2 separate regions of the Homo sapiens genome follow, and region 2 is linked to region 1. The links are contacts of gene promoters, found by promoter capture Hi-C in blood cells and fetal thymus (Javierre and others, 2016). All regions are on one chromosome and are shown on one strand. Each heading gives the region's core, a stretch centred on a gene start or on the middle of the fragment in contact. The rest is flanking DNA. Distances are from core to core; before and after follow the strand shown. Region 1 overlaps RABAC1 (Rab acceptor 1). Region 2 holds the start of LYPD4 (LY6/PLAUR domain containing 4).

The links. Contacts are between HindIII fragments. The CHiCAGO score rates a contact against its expected background, and 5 or more counts as called.
Region 2: a contact is called between the fragment with the promoter of LYPD4 here and a fragment that was not itself captured in region 1, in 8 of 17 cell types (naive CD8 T cells, naive CD4 T cells, non-activated CD4 T cells and 5 more). The highest score is 8.2, in naive CD8 T cells.

Annotation. Positions count from the first base shown.
Region 1 is chr19:41,952,565-41,957,740 of GRCh38, reverse strand. RABAC1 (Rab acceptor 1) reads left to right here. Exons shown (of 5, transcript NM_006423.3): 4 at 622-723; 5 at 807-1,058. The coding sequence ends at 895. Among named protein-coding and RNA genes, the nearest start is that of RABAC1, 4.2 kb to the left of the region's middle. The HindIII fragment of the contact is 6,931 bases long and covers 1-5,176 here.
Region 2 is chr19:41,840,948-41,846,521 of GRCh38, reverse strand. It overlaps LYPD4 (LY6/PLAUR domain containing 4), which reads left to right and starts at 1,839. Exons shown (of 5, transcript NM_173506.7): 1 at 1,839-2,944. It overlaps DMRTC2 (DMRT like family C2), which reads right to left and starts at 1,480. Exons shown (of 9, transcript NM_001040283.3): 1 at 1,421-1,480. The HindIII fragment of the contact is 15,469 bases long and covers 1-5,574 here.

The DNA of each region.
Region 1 (5,176 bases), core at 1,661-4,160:
GTCAGGGAGTTGGGATTGGACAGTTAGGTAGACCTGAAGGCCAGGCTCTTCAGGGGCCTGCAAGTTATGTGCTTGATGGGCTGGGGTGGAGGGAGTGCCTGAAGCACAGGCACGACTTGGCTTCAGCTGATCACCGTCACCAGAGCATGTAGACCCCATCCCTGAGACTTCTATGAGAAGCCTGAAGTTGGTATTTTTATGTGAAATCGTTCACTTTGCCAGCCACAAATCACATCCTTGCAAAACAGCTCAAAAAACACATCCACAGGTCAGATTTGGCCCTTGGGCCACCAGTTTGAGACCCTGGTCTGCGCGAGGGTTGCAGCAGGAGAGCCCTAGTCTAGGGAGCAGGAAGCCGGGATCCCAGGAACTTCCTGGAGGATGTGGGGCAGAGGGCAGAGGGTGGGGCTGAGGCAGGCGAGGACGGTGTGCTGTGTTCTGGAGGGCAGTGGGGACAGCAGGGGAACAGGGTGACCCCAGGACCTGGAGGGCCTTGGCATGAGGAGTTTGGATTCGATCCCGAGAACCTGGAGCTTGTACGGATTGTTGGGGGGCAGCAGGGGTTACTCTGGGAGAGGGCATGGAGAGTCGGAACAGCACCCCAATGCCATCTGCCCCCAGGCCGAGAGGTGAGCCCAGCGCATCAGTATGCTCTGGCTGGAGGCATCTCCTTCCCCTTCTTCTGGCTGGCTGGTGCGGGCTCGGCCGTCTTCTGGGTGCTGGGTGAGTACAGGGTCTGAGCAGCTGGGGTGGATGGTGGGAGCCAGGTGCAGGAGTGTGGCCCTGAGCTGCCGGCTTTCCTGCAGGAGCCACCCTGGTGGTCATCGGCTCCCACGCTGCCTTCCACCAGATTGAGGCTGTGGACGGGGAGGAGCTGCAGATGGAACCCGTGTGAGGTGTCTTCTGGGACCTGCCGGCCTCCCGGGCCAGCTGCCCCACCCCTGCCCATGCCTGTCCTGCACGGCTCTGCTGCTCGGGCCCACAGCGCCGTCCCATCACAAGCCCGGGGAGGGATCCCGCCTTTGAAAATAAAGCTGTTATGGGTGTCATTCAGGAAATATTCCCCCAGCATCTTCTGTGGGTCTCTATGGGTGGAGCTGGGAATACTGCACAGAGCAGGGTTGGGGTGGAACCTGGGGTGTGGGCAAGACGATGACAAGGTAAACAGGTAAAATATTATGGGATGCCCAATGGTGGTGAGTGTTCAGGAGGAGAAAAGAGTTGAGAAGGACAGTGTGCCGGGGGTCCCCGAGACCACCCCCAGGTTTGATGGTTCTTTAGGACTCAGGAATCAGAGAGCACCCCAGGTTTGATGGTTCTCTGGGACTGGGGACTCAGTATGCAATTGCACTCACAGCTCTGATTTACTCTCATCAAAGGGTATGGAGCCAAGTCAGCCAAAAGGAAAGGTGCATGGAGTGAACTCGGGAAACCAGGCATGCACTTCCAGAGGCCACACCTAATTCCTCCAGCAGTGGATCATGGTGACGTGTGAAATGTCAGCCAGGGACACTCTGATCCTAGCCTCAGCGCCCTTGGTTTCATGGGGGCGGCCACAAGAGCACCTTCTCTCCAACATATACCAAAATGCCAGGCTCCCAGAAAGAAGGCCTGTGCCTGCACGAACAGCCTAGATAGATGCAGCAAGCCACTCTAGGCCTGCACGAACAGCCTAGATAGATGCAGCGAGCCACTCTATCAGGAAGTGATAAGACCCCCCCCCCAACACCCAAGTTCCCAGCCAAGGACCAACTGTGCACCCAGGCCTGTCTAAGGACAGCAGTCTGTTGTGGAGCCTGCCAGGTTAACTCTTTTCTGCACAGAGAAAGTTCGGGAATGAGTTGTGGGTTAAAGAGGGTGACCAGAAAAGGCCTCCCTGACGTGACATTCACCAAAGACCTAAATTGAGAGAGGGAGCAGCCCAGATCCTTTGGAGGAAGAATAATTGGGGCAGAGGAAGCCACAGGGGCATAGCCTGGGAGATGGCAGCAGCCAGGAGGCTCGAGGGCAGCCAGGAGGTGGGCGTGGCTGGGGCAGATAAGCGAGGGGGACAGTGTGGGAGGCCAGGGAGCCTTGTGGGCCACGGTGAGGGCTTTGGGTTTTACTCTGCTTGAGATGAAAGACACAGTTTGCTTTTGTGAGATGGATTTTGCTTTGTTTCCCAGGCTGGTCTCAAATTCCTGGGCTCAAGCGATTCTCCCCCTGCAGCCTCCCATAGTGCTGGGACTACTGGTGTGAGCCACTGTGTCCAGCCCAGTTTGCTTCTTGCCTTTTGTTTTTTTGAGACAGGGTCTCACTTTATGGCCCAGGCTGGAGTGCAGTGGTGTGACCACTGCTCACTGCAGCATCTACCTCTTGGGCTCAAGTGAGCCTCCCACCTCAGCCTCCTGAGCAGCTGGGACCACAGGTGCACGCCACCACACCCAGCTAATTTTTTTTAACTTTTCATTAGACAGGGTCTCACTATGTTGCCTGGCCTGGTTTCAAACTCCTGGGCTGAAGCAATCCTCCTGCCTCAGCCTCTCAAAGTTCTGGGATTACAGGCATGAGCCACCGTGCCGGGTCCAGTTTGCCTTTCATCATGAGGTGGAGACTGCCACGTGGTAGCAGTAACAAAAGAGAAACACACTTGGGAGGGAAAGTGCCAGGCAGATGAAGACAAGGGAGGTGGCCGAGAGGGCCTAAGAAGTGACTTGATTTTTTTATTTTTATTTATTTGTTTATTTTTTTGAGATGGAGTCTCTCTCTGTCGCCCACGCTGGAGAGCAATGGTGTGATTTCGGCTCACTGTAACCTCCACTTCCAAGATTCAAGCTATTCTCCTGCCTCAGCCTCCCAGGTAGCTGGGATTATAGGTGCCCACCAACACGCCTGACTAATTTTTGTATTTTTAGTTTTATTTTTTAATTTTTTTGAGATGGAGTTTCGCTCTTGTTGCCCATGCTGGAGTGCAATGGCGCGATCTCGACTCACTGCAACCTCCACCTCCCGGTTTCAAGTGATTCTCCTGCCTCAGCCTCCCGAGTAGCTGGGATTACAGGCGCCTGCCACCACGCCCGGCTGATTTTTTTGTATTTTTGGTAGAGACAGGGTTTCACTGTGTTGCCCAGGCTGGTCTCGAACTCCTGACCTCAGGTGATCCACCTGTCTTGGCCTCCCAAAGTGCTAGGATTACATGTGTGAGCCACCGTGCCCCGCCAATTACTTTAGATAGGGGTGGTCTGGGAGGGCTCTCTGAGGAGACACAAGAAGTGGGTGGAGTTTCCCAAGGAGAGGGACAGCGAGTGCCAAGGCCTCAGGGATGCAGCCTCTCCAACCTCGTGTCTCCTCAGCAGAACTCACCCACTCATCCTTGATGCAGCAGGTGCTCACCCAGAGCCCACTGATGCCCACTGTTCTGGAATTCTCCTGTCAGATATGGTGGCCAGCCATATGCGGCTGCCTCAAACATGGCTGGTCCAAACTGAGACATGCTATGAGTGTGAAATGCACACCAGACTTCGAAGATTTAGTATGAAAATGGAGTAAAATATCTCAATAATTTTTATAGGCTGGGCATGGTGGCTCACACCTGTAATCCCAGCACTATTGGGAGGCTGAGGCAGGCAGATCACTTGAGGCCAGGAGTTTTAGACCAGCCTGGCCAATATGGTGAAACCCTGTGTCTACTAAAAGTACAAAAATTGGCCTGGCGCGGTGGCTTACGCCTGTAATCCCAGCACTTTGGGAGGCCGAGGCAGGTGGATCACGAGGTCAGGAGTTCAAGACCAGCCTGGCCAAGATGGTGAGACCCCGTCTCTACTAAAAATACAAAAAAATTGGCCGGGCATGGTGGCGGTGCACTGTAATCCCAGCTACTTGGGAGGCTGAGGCAGAGAATTGCTTGAACCCAGGGGGCGGAGGTTGCAGTGAGCCAAGATCGCACCACTGCACCCCAGCCTAGGCAACAGAGCAGGACTCCATCTCAAAAAAAAAAAAAAAAAAATTGGCATGGTGGCACATGCCTATAATCCCAGCTACTTGGGAGGTTAAGGCAGGAGAATTGTTTGAACCTGGGACACAGAGGTTGCAGTGAGCCAAGATTGTGCCACTGCACTCCAGCCTGGGTAACAGAGAAAGACTCTGTCTCAAAAATAATAATAATTTTTATGTTGATTATGTGTGTTGGAAGGATAATTTATTGATATAGTGGATTAAATTATTATTCATTTCACCTTTTGTTTTTTACTTTTAAAAACACGATTAAGAGGCCGGGCGCAGTGGCTCACGCCTGTAATCCCAGCGCTTTGGGAGGCTGAGGTGGGCGGATCACGAGGTCAGGAGATCGAGACCACCCTGGCTAACATGGTGAAACCCCGTCTCTACTAAAAATACAAAAAAATTAGCCAGGCGTGGTGGCAGGCGCCTGTAGTCCCAGCTACTCAGCGGGAGGATGGCGTGAACCTGGGAGGCGGAGCTTGCAGTGAGCCAATATCGCGCCACTGCACTCCAGCCTGGGTGACAGAGCGAGACTCGATCTCAAAAAAAAAAAAAAAGAAAAAAAACATGATTAAGGCTGGGCACCATGGCTCATGCCTGTATAATCCTAACACCTTGGGAAACCAAGGTGGGAGGATTGCATGAGCCCAAGAGTTTGAGACCAGCCTGGATAACACAACAAGACCCCCATCTCTGCAAAAAAGTTAAACAGTTATTTGGGCATGGTAGTGTGGGCCTGTAGTCCCAGCTACTTGGGAGGCTGAGGTGGGAGGATAACTTGAGTCCAGGAGTTCAATGCTACAGTGAGCCATGACTGCCACTGCACTCAGCCTGGGCAACACAGAGATACCCCATCTCTTTAAAAACAAACAAACAAGAGTTGCTGGGTGTGGTGGCTCATGCCTATAATCCCAGCACTTTGGGAAGCCAAGGTGGGTGGACTGCATGAGCTCAGAACTTCGAGACCAGCCTGGGCAACATGGCAACACCCTGTCTCTACAAAAAATACAAAAATTAGCCAGGTGTGGTGGCGCATGCCTGTGGTCCCAGCTACTTGGGAGGCAGAGGTGGGAGGATTGCTTGAGCCCAGTAGGTCAAGGCTGCAGTGGGCCGAGATTGCATCACCGCTGCACTCCAGCCTGGGTGACAGAGTGAGACCCTGTCTCAAAAAGAAGGCGGGGGCGGGGGGTGTGCGGAT
Region 2 (5,574 bases), core at 590-3,089, 110 kb after region 1:
AGGCTGGTCTGGTCTCGAACTCCTGGGCTCAAGCGATCCTCCTGCCTTGGCCTCCCACAGTGCTAGGATCAGAGGCATGAGCTGCTGCGCCCGACATTCTGTATTCTTTCAATTCAAACATTCTTTTCTTTCAATCCAAACACTTTCCCACCCACACACACATCCTAGGTTCCAACCTACTCATGTCCTCACATACCCCTTCAGCGAGTCCTACATCCCCTTTTCACAAGCACCCTGTTCCGTCCCAACAGTGTTTCCTGGCATCCTCTTCAACAATGCTCACCCCACTCTCATGCATTCATCCAATGCCTACCAGTAGTTTTATGCCCCTTTCAATTCTTAGTTCAATTTCAATTCTTAGTCTCATCTATGCCCTGCAAAGCAACTGCCTCCTTGCATTCCTTTAGTCTTATTTTGTTCTTGTACCCCTTTAAATCAGAACCCTCTCTTGCACCCCCAATAATTACCTTATTCTCATGGATTCCCTGCTCCACTTTCTTTTTTTTTTTATTGACAGGGTCTCGCTCTGTTGCCCAGGCTGGAGCGCAGTGGCGTGATCATGGCTCACTGCAGCCTCCACCTCCTGAGCTCAAGCAATCCTCCTGCCGCAGCCTCCCCAGTAGCTGGGACTACAGGCTGGAGCCACTATGCTTGGCTCCCCTGTCCCACTTTCTTTCTTTCTTTTTTTTTGTTTTGAGATGGAGTCTCACTCTGTAGCCCAGGCTGTAGTGCAGTAGTGCAATCCCGGCTCACTGCAACCTCCGCCTCCTGGGTTCAAGCAATTCTCCTGCCTCAGCCTCCCGAGTACCTGGGATTACAGGCCTGTGCCACCACGCCCGTCTAATTTTTGTATTTTTAGTAGAGATGGGGTTTCACCATGTTGGCCAGGCTGGTCTTGAACTCCTGACCTGCCTCAAGCGACCTGCCTGCTTCGGCCTCCCAAAGTGTTGGGATTACAGGCATGAGCCACCGCACCCGCCACCTGCCCCACTTTCAAGTTATTTTCCTTCACTCCTTCATTCATTCCACAAATGGTTACTGAGCCCCTGTCATGTGCTAGGCCCTGATCTGGGCCAAAAACCTTCTCCTTGGGGCACTAATGTCTCTCTTGCGCTCACACCTTATTCAGGTTTTTGTGTAAACATGTGAAGTCACTGTGTCCAGCGCTTCCTGCTCCTGTGGCCACTACCAACAATTAATTTCATGCATGTCCCCCTCCCCCCTTCCCGTGCCCCAGGGAGCGAGTGGGGAACCGGGAACGCGCCAAGGGGCCCGCGAGGCAGGGAAGGGGAGAGGGGGCGCGAGGGCGGGAGGGGCGCGAGGGGGAGGAGAGGGGATGCCTGGGTTAGGGAGTCCGGCTAAGAGGGAGGAGGACGGAAAGGCAGGAGGGACCGTGTTCGTGCAGCTAGTTCACGGTTACCACAGCCTCCAATGGAGTCAGATTCAGTCAAGAAGACGCCCAAAGACACTGTGAGAAAGTGGCCAGAGGAACCGCCAAGCTCGCGCTGCTTTTCTTACCCTGTCTCACAAAGACCAATGAACTTCAAGCATCGCCTCTCTCAGCCGAGGCAGACGACCAATGCGGTTTGAGATCCTGAACTGATGTCCCGCCCCTTCCCTTCTGCCAGCTTCTTGGCGCACAAGACTATCAGTCCCACCAATAGCGCTTCGAGTTGAGCCTCGCGCCACCGCTGCCTCTCCCTCCGCACGTCCTGCCCGCCCAGACTGTCTTCCCCCTTTCGAGGCAGGTGGCCAATGGGGCGTCGAGTACCCCTTATTGGACCGAGGCTGGCCCCGCCCCCCAGGAACGGCCCGCCTGGCCCCGCCCCTGGGGCGTTGACCAAGCCCGGTCTGTGCACGGGTTGCCTCGTTTCTGGCCTTCCCTTGCCTTGTACCTCGACTTCGCGCGTGGCTTGTTTTTGCTGAGTGGAGGCCTGCGTTTTCTGTTATGTCTCTTCCGGTGCCCCACAACTCCTGAGCTACCCTTCTTTTATGCGTTCTCTCCCAGCGCTGTGATTACCGGGTTGCTTACCGGGCCCTCCTTCCTCAGATTGCACCCCTTTCCTTGTGTCTCTTCTTGTCTTTGTGTCGGTTGTGATTTTCCTAATCTCTGATTTTCCTTTTCTCTCGGACGCTCTCCCTCTTCGGACCCATTTTCTCCCGTGCTTCATGCCCTGATAGCCTGGCCCCTTCCCGGCTTCCTTCGCTACCGGGGACGCCTCTAGTTTTTCTGAATTTCTGGCTGGCTCCACCCTCCGCGTTCATCTTCCTCAAGAGTTCGCCCCTCTGGGGGCTCCTCTGTGTAATCGTCGCCTTCTCTGGGTATTTCTGTGAACTCCGTCTCACACCATCCCGCCATCTTCTCTGCCTTGGCCCCTTTTCTCTGTACAGCCAGCTCTGTGTCCTTTTCTTCTCCCCCTCTAAAATCGACTCCTCTTCTCCCTGAGAGCCCCACCTTTGTGCCCCACTCCTCATTTTCCTACGCCTCCCTCTCTCTGCTGGTCCTCTCTCTCCCTGCAAGGTTCCATTCCATCAATTTGTTTGTCTTTTGTAGGGGTGGCATCCCCTCTGACTACTGCTCCATCCTTTTTTTTTTTTTTTTTTTTTTTTTTTTTGCTTGAGGATTTCACTTCAATCTTTTCTGGTTGCGTCTCCACTTGTACTCAGCTTGTTAGGTCCAGGTCCAGTTGTTCTGCATCTGAGGCTGGCGTGTGCTGTCTTCTCTGATTGGCCTAATCTCCCTCACCCCCGTGAGATCTGTTGTCAGCCTTCGTTTCTCTTTCCTGTGTCCCAGCTTTTCTGCGGGTCTTGGCACCTTTCTTGGCCACAGATTTCTGGGTTACAGAGCATGTGTGTCTGAGGCATTGCAGGCAGAAAAGGGTGGCCGACGTGACCTCTAGCTGGACTGCTGGGCAGGGGAGCTGTCCTAGATAAAATTGGAAAGGTTGGGTGGCGCTTATCTGGGGTGGGGTGGGGTGTGGTCGGGGGAGGCTTAAAGGCCAGCTAAAGAGGTTGAACTTGATCCTTTAGGTAGTGGAGAGAGAGTGAGAGGAAGTGTGTGTGGGAGGGAGGGATAGTGGTAGAGGAACAGGGTAACCAACGATTATAAAGAGCTTAGCATTTGCCTAATACTTATGGTAATAATTTTATTGATCTTCACAATGACCCTATGAGATGTATTATACTTCATTTTATAAAGAAGGTAGTAGGCTCTGAGTTCAACAAATTGGACAGCTAGTAAATGAAGGGGTAAAGATTCCAACCTGGGTCTCTGAGGCCAAGGTCAGTGATCTTTGTACCCCCTCCTACACTGTTATTTTCCACCAATTCCCCACTTTCATTCCCTAACCTTCTTATAGGCAATTCTCATTCTAAGGTGGTTAATATGTATCTTTTGGTTTGTGTGTGTGTTCTCCCAGGATGTGTGTAGTGTTGTTGTTGGGGTTTTTTTTTTTTTTTTTTTTTTTTTTTTTTTTTTTTTTTTTTTTTAGCGATGGGGTTTTGCCATATTAACCAGGCTGGTCCAGAACTCCTGGCCTGAAGTGATCTGTCTGCCTTGGCCTCCCAAAGTGCTGGGATCACAGGCATGAACGACCACACCCGACCTCTGTTTGAGTTTTTAATTTATGCAAGTGATATTATGTTATATACTATTTGTAATAATCAGCACTGTGATTTTACAATCTATCCATGTACACATTCTGTCATTCTGTCATGATGTGTACTTTTTTTTTTTTTTTTTTTTTTTTTTTTTTTTGTTTAGACGGAGTTTCACTCTTATTGCCCAGGCTGGAGTGCAATGGTGTGATCTTGGCTTACTGCACCCTCCACCTCCTGGGTTCAAGCAATTCTTCTGCTGCCACAGCCTCTTGAGTAGCTGGGATTACAGGCTCCCACCACCACACTCGACTAATTTTTGTATTTTTAGTAGAGTCAGGATTTTGCCATGTTGACCAGCTTGGTCTTGAACTCCTGACCTCAGGTGATCCGCCCACCTCAGCCTCCCGAAGTGCTGGGATTACAGGCGTGAGCCACTGTACCCTGCCTCACATCCTGTGTACATCTAATCAACTTCTTCCAACTCCTGCGTGATATTCCATAGCGTACATCCCCAGCATGTTTTGCATTCACTTGGTCTCAGAGAGGGAAGCTCCCATTGTCTCAACCTACCATCACCACAATAATGCTGCATTCTCTGGGCATGGGAGCTCATGCCTGTAATCCCAGCACTTTGGGAGGCCGAGGTGGGTGGATTGCTTGAGCCCAGGAGTTTGATAACAGCTGGGGCAACATGGAAAAACTCCATCTCTACAAAGCTGGGTGTGTTGGCGCACACCTGTAGTCCCAGCTATTTGGGTGGCCGAGGTGAGAGGATTGCATGAGCCTGGCAGGTGGGGGCTGCAGTGAGCACAGCTGTCCTCCAGCCTGGGCAACAGAGCGAGACCCAGTCTCAGAAAAAAAAAATGCTGCATTATTGTGCATGTTCCTTTGTAGATGAAGGTGGACATTTTTGTAATACCTATGTAGGGTATACTGGAAATGGGTATTTATAAACCCAATTTGACCATGTAGTGTCAGACCCCTGCAATGCTGCTTTGGGCCTGAGATCCTGGTCAGAACTCTCAACTCCTTTGTTTCTCAGAGTCCAGAAATAGTGTTTTATTCCCCAGCCCTCCAAATAATGCCATGAGCATCAGGGGCCAAGGGTTCCTTTATCCCCACATACCTGCCAACACTTGTCTTTTCCCAGCTTTCTGATCCTTACCAGTCTGATAGATGTACAATTTGACAGATTGCATTTCCTTGGTTATTGCTGGGTTTGTGCATTTCTTCACTTTTTTTTTTTTTTTTTTTTTGAGACAGGGTCTTGTTCTATTGCCCAGGCTGGAGTGCAGTGGCATGATCTCGGCTCACTGCAACCTCTGGCTTCCGGGTTCAAGTGATCCTCCCTCCTCAGCCTCCCTAGTAGCTGGGACTGCAGGCACGTACCACCACACCGGGCTAATTTTTGTATTTGTAGTAGAGACAGTGTTTCACCTTGTTGGCCAGGCTGGTCGCGAACTCCTGACCTTGTGATTTGAGGCTAAAGCAATCCTTCAACATTAGCCTCCTGAGTAGCTGGGACTACAGGCACTCCCATGCTTGGCTAATTTTTAAACTTTTTTTTTTTTTTGGTATAGACAAGGTGTTGCCCAGGCTGGTCTCAAATTGCTGACCTCGAGCAGTCCTGGCTCAGCCTCCCAAAGCACTGGAATTACCGGCATAAGCCACTGTGTTGCCCAGGCTGGTCTTGAACTCCTGACCTCAAGGGATCCTCCTGGCTCAGCCTCCCAAAGCACTGGGATTAGAGGCATGAGCCACTGTGCCGGCCTGCATCTTCTCCCTTGATCAGATTTGCCAGCGAACTAACTAAATCTTTTCATAGAATGGATCTTTTTTGTAATAATGTTTGTTGTTGTTTACTATTTCATTGATTTCTGCTATCATCCTTATTTCCATTCTTTTTTGGGTAGGAGAGAATTGCTTTGTTGCTCCTTATACAATTTCTTGAACTAGTTCATGAATATATTTATT